3 separate regions of the Homo sapiens genome follow, and all the other regions are linked to region 2. The links are contacts of gene promoters, found by promoter capture Hi-C in blood cells and fetal thymus (Javierre and others, 2016). All regions are on one chromosome and are shown on one strand. The core of a region is centred on a gene start or on the middle of the fragment in contact, and the rest is flanking DNA. Distances in the headings are between cores, read along the strand shown. Region 1 holds the start of TRAM2 (translocation associated membrane protein 2). Region 2 holds the start of CENPQ (centromere protein Q). Region 3 holds the start of LRRC1 (leucine rich repeat containing 1).

Region 1 (2,700 bases), core at 201-2,700, 3.1 Mb after region 2:
TTCGTAGAGATACAGGGAACCCGAGACAGAGGGACAGGGAAGGAAATTTAGCCAGGCAAGCCATCCTCCATCTCCAAGGAAGTTTGTAAATGATCACAGCTTCCTAACCCAACCGTGAGAATGCAATAAGCAAGCTGACGCAGAAGGGAGGACAAGGAGTCTCAGGAACCAGAGGAGACCACGGTGAGAGTGAGGGGAATGTCGCTCACATATCTCACTTCTGAGACAAGATATACCGCAACAAACCCATGCCAAGCTTCCTCCAGTTCTTCCCACTTTTGAATATCACATTTTTCTTGCTCTGCAAGAGTAGGGAATCCTTCCCATCAGTCTTGTGAATTCTGACCCCTTGCTGGCTTTCTACAACTCCCTGCCTGGGAGGCCGACACCAGGACATTGCTGTTGGGGGTGGGATCCCCATCCTCTGCCCCCCACTCCTACACTATAAGAGAATCAACTTTCCCCAAAAAGTGGAGGGTATCCCTGTCTCTCTTCTTGTCTCTGTAAAGGGGGTGAAGCTCTGGGTCGCCGCAGATGGATCTAAAGGGACAGTTCACGGAGTGGTAAAGGATATCCAAAAATTGGCCTTCTAGAGCACAGCAAAAAAGTGGGAGCGAGACGAGAGCAGAAGGCCACTGCTGGGATGGGGCCAGGGCCACACGTGAACATCCGAGCACGTTCCAGAGCTGAGATGCAAAACACCCAGAAAATCACATAGGAAGTGGAAAAGGTTCTGGGTCTCTCCCACTGGAAAAGCCCAGAAGAGCTAGTGGCCACCCCTTGGGGCAAGAGGGGGTTGTGCAATGACTGCGGGTCTGGGAGTCTCTGGGCTTGGCTCCTGGACGCCAGAAAGGGAACCCCACGCGTCAAGCCATGGTGGCAGCGCGGCGGTTGGTTCGAGGCCAGGCTGGGGTTTCAGGGCTGCAGACAGAGCTGCAGGATACGATGAGTGCCCAAGGGGGCGGCAGAGCATGGCATGGCTGGCACGGCGCGGAGCTGGGGGTGCTGTCTGGGCTGGCCGGGGTACAGGCCGGAGGGGTACAGTGCACAAAGCCGGGGTGCAGATAACGTACACGGCAGCCAGGAGCCTCCGATCAGAGGAGGGCCCGCTGACCTGCAGGGGTGTGCCGGGCGGTGCACGACAGGGGGCACTGTCCCTCCAGCTCCCTCCTCCCCAGGCTCTCACCTCGAACATAAGCCCGATGAGGACGCAGAGCACCAGGCAGAAGCCGATGTCCGCATGGTTGTGGATGACGAACTCCTGGCTGAAGAGCGGGTAACTTTTCGTCCTCCTGCGGAAAGCCATGGCAGCGGGCGCGCAGCGGCCGGCGGGGCCCGCACCCTGCGCTCACGAACCGCAGCGCAAACTTCTCCAGCACCGGCCCGGTCCGCCCGCCGGCCCGCCGCCCGCTCTCCCACAGCCGCTCGCCCGCCCAGCGCGGAACAACTTCGGGGCCCGCCCCCTTCCTCCGCCCGCCCCCGGCCGCCCGTAACCGCCCCCGGCCGCAGCCCCCGCCCAGCCCCCGCCCAGCCCGCGGCCCGCACTCGGCGCGCCTGGCCCCGCCCCCCGCGGGCTTAACCCTCTAGCCGCTGGGCACGCGCGGGCTACCGGGGCGGAGGCGTACGGGGGCGGCGAGCGGGGCTCGGCTCCTCCTCGTCCCGCGCCAGCGCCGCGCCCGGCCGCATTCTCGGGGCCCGAGGCTCAGCCGCTCGCGGTGGAGAAAGCAGGCCGCGGAGGAGGCGGGCGCCCAGGCCTGCCCGGACAGGAAGTGGGCCCAGCTTTCCCACTCCTCGCTCCGCTCCTTCCTCCGCGGGAAGGGCAGGCCCCGGAGGCAGCGAGCGCCCCGGGGGTGGCCGGGCAGCCGGATGCTCCCGGGGTTGCGGGCTGTGGCCCCGGGGGCTGAGGGCGGCGCGGGTGCGGCGGAAGCAGGGAAGCCGCGAACCGGCCTTCTGGCTGGCCACAGCGCCCTGCACGGACGATCAGTGAATGGAGATTACTCAAGTATTTATCGAGAACTTGCAGTGGGCTAGGCACAGTTCAGGTAGATCAACAAACCGAAAGACCCTGCCCTAGGGGAGCTTTCGCTCCAATGCGGGGAGAGGGTGGATGATTGCAGTTTTGCCCAGTAATTTTTGGGACCCTCATGCCACCATTAATTAGCTACACACATTTCACCGAAAGTCTACCTTACATATTAATCAGAAGAAGTGGAAGAATAAACACAGAAGAAGCAAAAAAGGAAGGAACTTTCTCACTGAAAGTTTCTATTTAATATTAAGTCTTAAAAGTACTCCTGGAAGGACAAAAGGTGTTCTTAATAAATTATATTCGCAAATATTGGATTTAATCCTACCAGTAATGAAGCAGTCAGTTACTTTCTAGATGTGCAGAAATACGTAATGAACAAAAAAAACTAATTCCTATTCCATTTTTTATTAGGTCCACAGTTATTTCACTTCTAAATAAATATGGTTTTTTAAAAGTGGCACGCGGTGGAATGTAATTGAGACAGGATGGAGTTCCTAGAGAAATTTTACTTCCTCAATCTGCACTCCACCTTACTTAAAATACAGTCTTGGGTCTGTAATTCCCTTATCTGACTCTCAAGGAAATGACAAAGTAATGCCTAGATTGGACTAAACCTCATTTAACTTCAAGGCTGACCTTTCTCAAAGTTGAACCTTCGTCTTGTGAGGAAC
Region 2 (2,700 bases), core at 43-2,542:
GAATTGGTGGAGGCTGGAAACAGACACCATTTTTAGATAAAAACACAACTACTGCGGATGGCAATACGACCTCTGAATTTTCTCAGAAGACCATCAAGAGAGGCCTCAAGCATTCAAAGAAGCAACATGCAAAGCAAATATGTTACTGACAACTAAAATGAGTTAAAGAGCAATGATTAATCCCACCCCCACACCTCAAAAACAAATCAGTGAGAAAAAGATTTCTTGAACCAATAAGTTTCAAGCTTTGGCTGCTGACGTATGATTGCACATTAATACTTCAAGAAGGTACTTTGATGTTCAACTAGTTGGGTTTGGAGATGGAAACATAGGGCATGAAAATTATATTTGATATTAGCATAAGTACATCATTAAACACAAAATTATATTGGCAGAAAATCATCAAGTGGTTTAAAACTTTACACACATACGTTATCCAGGGCTTCGAGCTTCCCTAAGACCACCTTCTTTCTAGATAAAACTGAGAACGAGTTAGTAATGTAAGCTTTTATGTCAATTTAGACCTGTCTTTTCTATTCTACCTCTCACTCTTAACACTGTTTACACTCTTAATCCTGTTTACACACAGAAAATCACTTTTATTCCCGAAAACTCTTAGAAAAACCCTGACAATAACATAACCCACAACCTAGAAGGGAGGCAGCCATGAAGCAGGCGCATCCCTTTGGAACCATACAAAAAGTGACCTCTGCCAACGGGAACAGTTCAGGGTGCTTAAGTGGCCAAAGAAGATACCGACATGGCCCCTAAAGTATTAAAAGCACCTTCTTTCCAGAAGTACCTCCGAATTGCCAGGGACTTCGCCCAAAACTAGAGGTTGGTCGAAGTGAAAATCTAAACCTAAGGAGAAGGCAGAGAGTGGGATCCCGTCACAGTAGGAAGGTAAAGAAGACAGAAGTAAAGGACAGAGCGGGAGAGAAAGGACAAAAGTTCAAAATACAGGGGTAGAGGAGGGACAGGAGCCAGAAGAATGGAGCGATCTGAAAGGTGTACGTCCTACTCACTGGTAGGCCTGTTTTGGACTCCGCTGTGGGAGAGGGCGGCTGCACTTCTGCGTCCCCCGCCTCACCTGTCAGACATCCACACAGCCAGGCCTCCCCGCCCTCACCAAGCCCACACAAACCGCGCCACCGCCAGCGTCAGCCGGACGACTCTGGGGGCGTAGGCCGACACCGCCCTCCCTCCAGCCAATCTAATAGCGCTCTCATGGGCGCATTCCTGATGACGTTTAGGGGTAGGGTTAGATGCCCGTTTCCGCTTTCTTCCCACCCACTTCCGGGTCTCCTCTGTTTACGAATGTTTGGGCGCGAATTACTCTAAGCGCGGCTCTCAGAAGGGTGCAAGAAGAATCAGTGGTGAGTCGTGATATCCTTAACCGGCTGGGTGGATCTAAAGTTCAGGGATGAGTTTTAAAGCCAACGCGTTTGTGGCAGACTCCGCAGTTTGCATTTGAGGATAGCGAGGGGGGATTGCTTACGGGGAAATGCCCGATGTCCTAAAAGATCTGCCCTTAGGATCCTGAGATTGAGATGTTTGATTAGGGGGGAGGGAGCAAAGCCATGAATACTTCCTATTTCTCCCGAATCATCCTCATGGCTCATCCTCATTGCTAAATTTCTCCCGCGGGCACTAGTGAAGTCAAGTGCAGCCTTGGACATTAGTGTCTGTGTTTCTCCAGGAGTCCTACTCACTCTTGTGCCCACATAGAGGTCTAAATTGAGGTAATTGAGTCCCATGAGTATCAACAAGCTGGTAAGAAAAACAAGACAACCTAGAATGCCTCCCTCTCTCCTAAAGCATATAGTCTGGCGGCAAACTACTGTACCAGCCTTATTTCTTTTCACTTCTCCTATACACATTAAAAGCCTCGCTGGATTATCCTGTCCCTGAACACGCCAGGTTTTTTGTGTTTTTTCCGAGCTTTCCTGCCGTCCGAGTTTTACTGTTTTCCCTTGGATGCTTCATTTTTCTACTTTTTGGCTAAATATTTCAAAATGTTATTAGAATAATACTTTTTCTATGAATAATGTACAAACATACTTCCGAGATATTGCGGGGTCGGTTCCAGACCAATAAAGCCTGTCACACGATTTTTTTGGTTTCCCAGTGCATATAACAGTTGTATTTACACTGTATTGTAACCTATTAAGTGTGCAATAGCATTATGTGTAAAAAAAAATTACATGCTGTAATTTTAAAATATTTTATTGCTAAAAAATGCTACTAATCATCTCAGCCTTCAGCAAGTCCTAATCTTTTTGCTGGTGGAGGGTCTTGCTTGATGTTGATGGCTGTTGACCAATCAGGGTGATGGTTGCTGAAGATTGGAGTTGCTGTGGCAGTTTCTTAAAATAACAAAATAATGAATTTTGTACAGCAGTTGACTCTTCCATTCACTAAAGATTTCTCTGTAGCATGTGATGCTGTTTGAAAGCATTTTACCCACTGTAGAACTTCTTTCAAAATTAGAGTAAATCCTCTTAACCCCTACCATTGCTTTAGCAACTAAGGTTTTGTGATATTCTGAATTCTTTGTTGATATTTCAAGAATATTCACAGCATCTTCACCAGGGGTAGATTCCATCTCAAGAACTTCGCTCATTCATAAGAAGCAACTTCTTTTCCACTAGTTTTATCATGAGATTGCAGCAATTCAGGTACATCTTCAGGCTCCACTAT
Region 3 (2,700 bases), core at 175-2,674, 4.3 Mb after region 2:
ACCAAGTGTCCTCTTCTCCATTTCACCGGGGAAACGCTCCTGTGCCTAGTCGTAAGGTACAGGAGAGTCTATGGAGCCCATGGAGAGTCTAATGCAAAAACTAGTTTCCGACCAAACTTTGCCTTGGCCACTGAGCATGCTCAGCTTTGTCTTCTATAGAAAAGTGAACTCCGTGGCTCCAGATTTTAGCTATAGCAGCTGGAGGGCGGGAGTGAGTGTGGGAGAGCCAGCGTGGCAGCGGCCGCAGGTGGAAACCTGGAGTTTGAGTATGCTTGAAAGGGAAAGTGTGGAACGAAGGGGCGGCCGGGTGGGGAATCAGAGAAGCCCCCAAGGAAATGATTCATCATTGTGATTGACCTTGACTTTAGCAACCCTTCATTAAAGGAGAAAATTTGGTTATTCGGAGATGGGGACTGTGTTGCAAACAGTTACAGGCAAAGAGGGGCAGTTCAGGATTCCGGCCGTGGTCCGCAGGAATGAGTCGGGGCGAGGGAATGGTTGTTATAACCCAATAGTGAGCCTCCCCGGTCATCCGGGCTGGACGGGACTGGGGTTGTAGCAGAAAAGCAGGAGCTGTATGGAGGATGCTCACCTGGCAGCCTCGATCTGCCCCTCTTCCCTCGCTCCTCCCTCCGCACCAGCCACAGCTAGTTGTCAGGGGCCAACATCTGGGCCGGGCTGGAACTGGCTCAGAAACTCGCGTTTGCCTGCTTATTTCTGCAGCTGGGCTCCTTGCCAGGTGCAACCACATCTATGAGAATCTCGCAGACTCTCAGACTCCTATGCCTTTGCTGGTACAGGGAGGAGGATTTACTATCACTCACTGCATAAACCATGATCACCAGAGATGTGCTCCCAAGTTACAAAGCCTGCAGGCGGTGCCCGAGGACCAGAGGGCCGGGCGCGGCCAGCTCACACTTCTGGGGCAGCCGTGAGCAGCGGGCACACGGGCAGCCACGAAAGCAGCAGCGAGGGTGGTGCAAACACCTCAAAACTACACCGAATCCAGTAGCGCCTGGCGCCCCCGGCGCGCAAGGTACGCTTTGGGGCGGTCCTGTGTGACCCCGGAAGAGAAAGTTGTTTTGGGGAAGGGGAGCAAGGAGAGGAGTGCGAGTTAAATAAAACTAAATATCAAAGTTGTTCTGCTCTGCTCAGGCCGCCTCTACTCCGCCTCATCTTTGTCCCAAGTCCTTTCACAGTCTGCCTTCCTCAAACGGCCCGATGCGCCCCCGTCTTTGCCGGAGTAAGCAGACCGCCAGCAGCCGGCCCGCAGGTCAGTCGACCCTCTCTGGATGCAGGTCGCCGGGAAAACCCGGAGCGGAGCATCCCTCGGGCCGGGAAACGCCCTCGGCGCGCACCCACTGGCGCGCATGCTCAGTCCGCGCGGCGGCTGCGAGTAGGAAGCTCCGCGCGGCGGCGGGGGCGGCGACGGCGACTGGCGGGTGGGAGTGGAGGCACCGGCTGGCGGGCGGGGGTACAGGGACGGGGCAGGGGCTCCCGCTCCAGGTTCCTTGAAGCACTTCCGACCGCGAAGCCCGGCGCGAGAAGCGAGCTAACCCAAGAGCCAACAACGAGCGCGGAGAGGGCAGCGGACTGAGCGGAGCCGCCGGCCAGAGCGGGCTCGGAGCCCGGGTCTCCGCCGCTCGGGACCCGGCTAGGCGGCGGCGGGGGCGGCGATGTTCCACTGCATCCCCCTGTGGCGGTGCAACCGTCATGTGGAGAGCATCGACAAGCGCCACTGCTCGCTGGTCTACGTCCCCGAGGAGATCTACCGCTATGCCCGGAGCCTGGAGGAGCTGCTGCTGGACGCCAACCAGCTCCGCGAGCTGCCCGAGGTAAGGGTCCGGCCTCACCTGAGCGCTCTGCCCGCTCGTCTGCTGTCCCTTCCGCTCCCATCCTCTCTCGTCCCCTCTTCCATCTCCGGGTCCGGCGTGAAGGAACCTTCCCTCTTTTATGCATTCACCTGCTTCTTTCTCCCCCTGTCTCTTTACTTCCATCCTTTCCCAGTAAAAGTTCCTTTTCATTTTATTCAAAGTGACCGGATATTTTGCGCGTAGTCACTGGGGCTCGTGCTATTGGAGAAGCGTTCTGGACTGTTAAGTAACTTAGATCCATGCTAGGTACTGACACCTGGCACTTGTGCCCGGTCAGGTGAGAAGCCGGGTGATTCGGGCTGTTTCCATCTGGAAGCTACAGAGCACTGCATCCTCCCCCCCTCCACTCCCCGGGGTCGTTCCCCCACCAAGGGCCGGGCGCGCCTCTCCTTTAGTCAAGGCATGTCCCGGAGGACCTTGTGACCTGGGCAGCGCTCAAGCGGGCCGCACTATCTCGGCATCTTGGGAGGAATGAGGAATGTGCTCCGTGCTTTATCGCGGGTGGGCTTGGCCGGCTGGCCTGCGGTGGCTGCGGGGGTGGACGCGAGATGGGCGCAGGGGAGAGCTGGGCCTGGAGCGCTAGGGGCAGGTGCCCAGATGCCGGCCGCCCGGGCCTTGCCTACGTGGACCTGTTGCGTGGTGGGAGCTGCGGTGAACGTCAGCGGAGGCTCTGCCCGCGGGCCAGCCTTGCAGCCGCCTTTCCCGGAGCGGGCACAGTCGTCCTGCTGACTTTCTCTCCTTGCAGTGATGCGTTATCTCTTCAGAGTTGTTTATGTAAATTGATCACTCCATTGCCGCCGAACTTGTCAAGCGACATGTGCTGATG

Evidence for each region. Contacts are between HindIII fragments. The CHiCAGO score rates a contact against its expected background, and 5 or more counts as called.
Region 1: the fragment with the promoter of TRAM2 here is called in contact with the fragment with the promoter of CENPQ in region 2 in 2 of 17 cell types (total B cells and non-activated CD4 T cells); the score reaches 13.0 in total B cells.
Region 3: the fragment with the promoter of LRRC1 here is called in contact with the fragment with the promoter of CENPQ in region 2 in 1 of 17 cell types (total B cells); the score reaches 6.5 in total B cells.

What each region holds. Positions count from the first base shown.
Region 1 is chr6:52,575,610-52,578,309 of GRCh38, forward strand. TRAM2 (translocation associated membrane protein 2) reads right to left here and starts at 1,451. Exons shown (of 11, transcript NM_012288.4): 1 at 1,187-1,451. The coding sequence starts at 1,306. It overlaps TRAM2-AS1 (TRAM2 antisense RNA 1), which reads left to right and starts at 1,593. Exons shown (of 3, transcript NR_103446.1): 1 at 1,593-2,700. RefSeq lists a silencer at 1,164-2,023. The HindIII fragment of the contact is 3,868 bases long and covers 255-2,700 here.
Region 2 is chr6:49,462,078-49,464,777 of GRCh38, forward strand. It overlaps CENPQ (centromere protein Q), which reads left to right and starts at 1,293. Exons shown (of 9, transcript NM_018132.4): 1 at 1,293-1,376. MMUT (methylmalonyl-CoA mutase) reads right to left here and starts at 1,176. Exons shown (of 13, transcript NM_000255.4): 1 at 1,026-1,176. RefSeq lists enhancers at 359-1,259, 846-915, 1,260-2,159. The HindIII fragment of the contact is 2,856 bases long and covers 504-2,700 here.
Region 3 is chr6:53,793,581-53,796,280 of GRCh38, forward strand. LRRC1 (leucine rich repeat containing 1) reads left to right here and starts at 1,425. Exons shown (of 14, transcript NM_018214.5): 1 at 1,425-1,835. The coding sequence starts at 1,677. It overlaps LOC124901333 (a long non-coding RNA gene), which reads right to left and starts at 95. Exons shown (of 5, transcript XR_007059619.1): 1 at 1-95. RefSeq lists silencers at 116-245, 1,291-1,530 and an enhancer at 1,497-2,209. The HindIII fragment of the contact is 4,441 bases long and covers 1-2,700 here.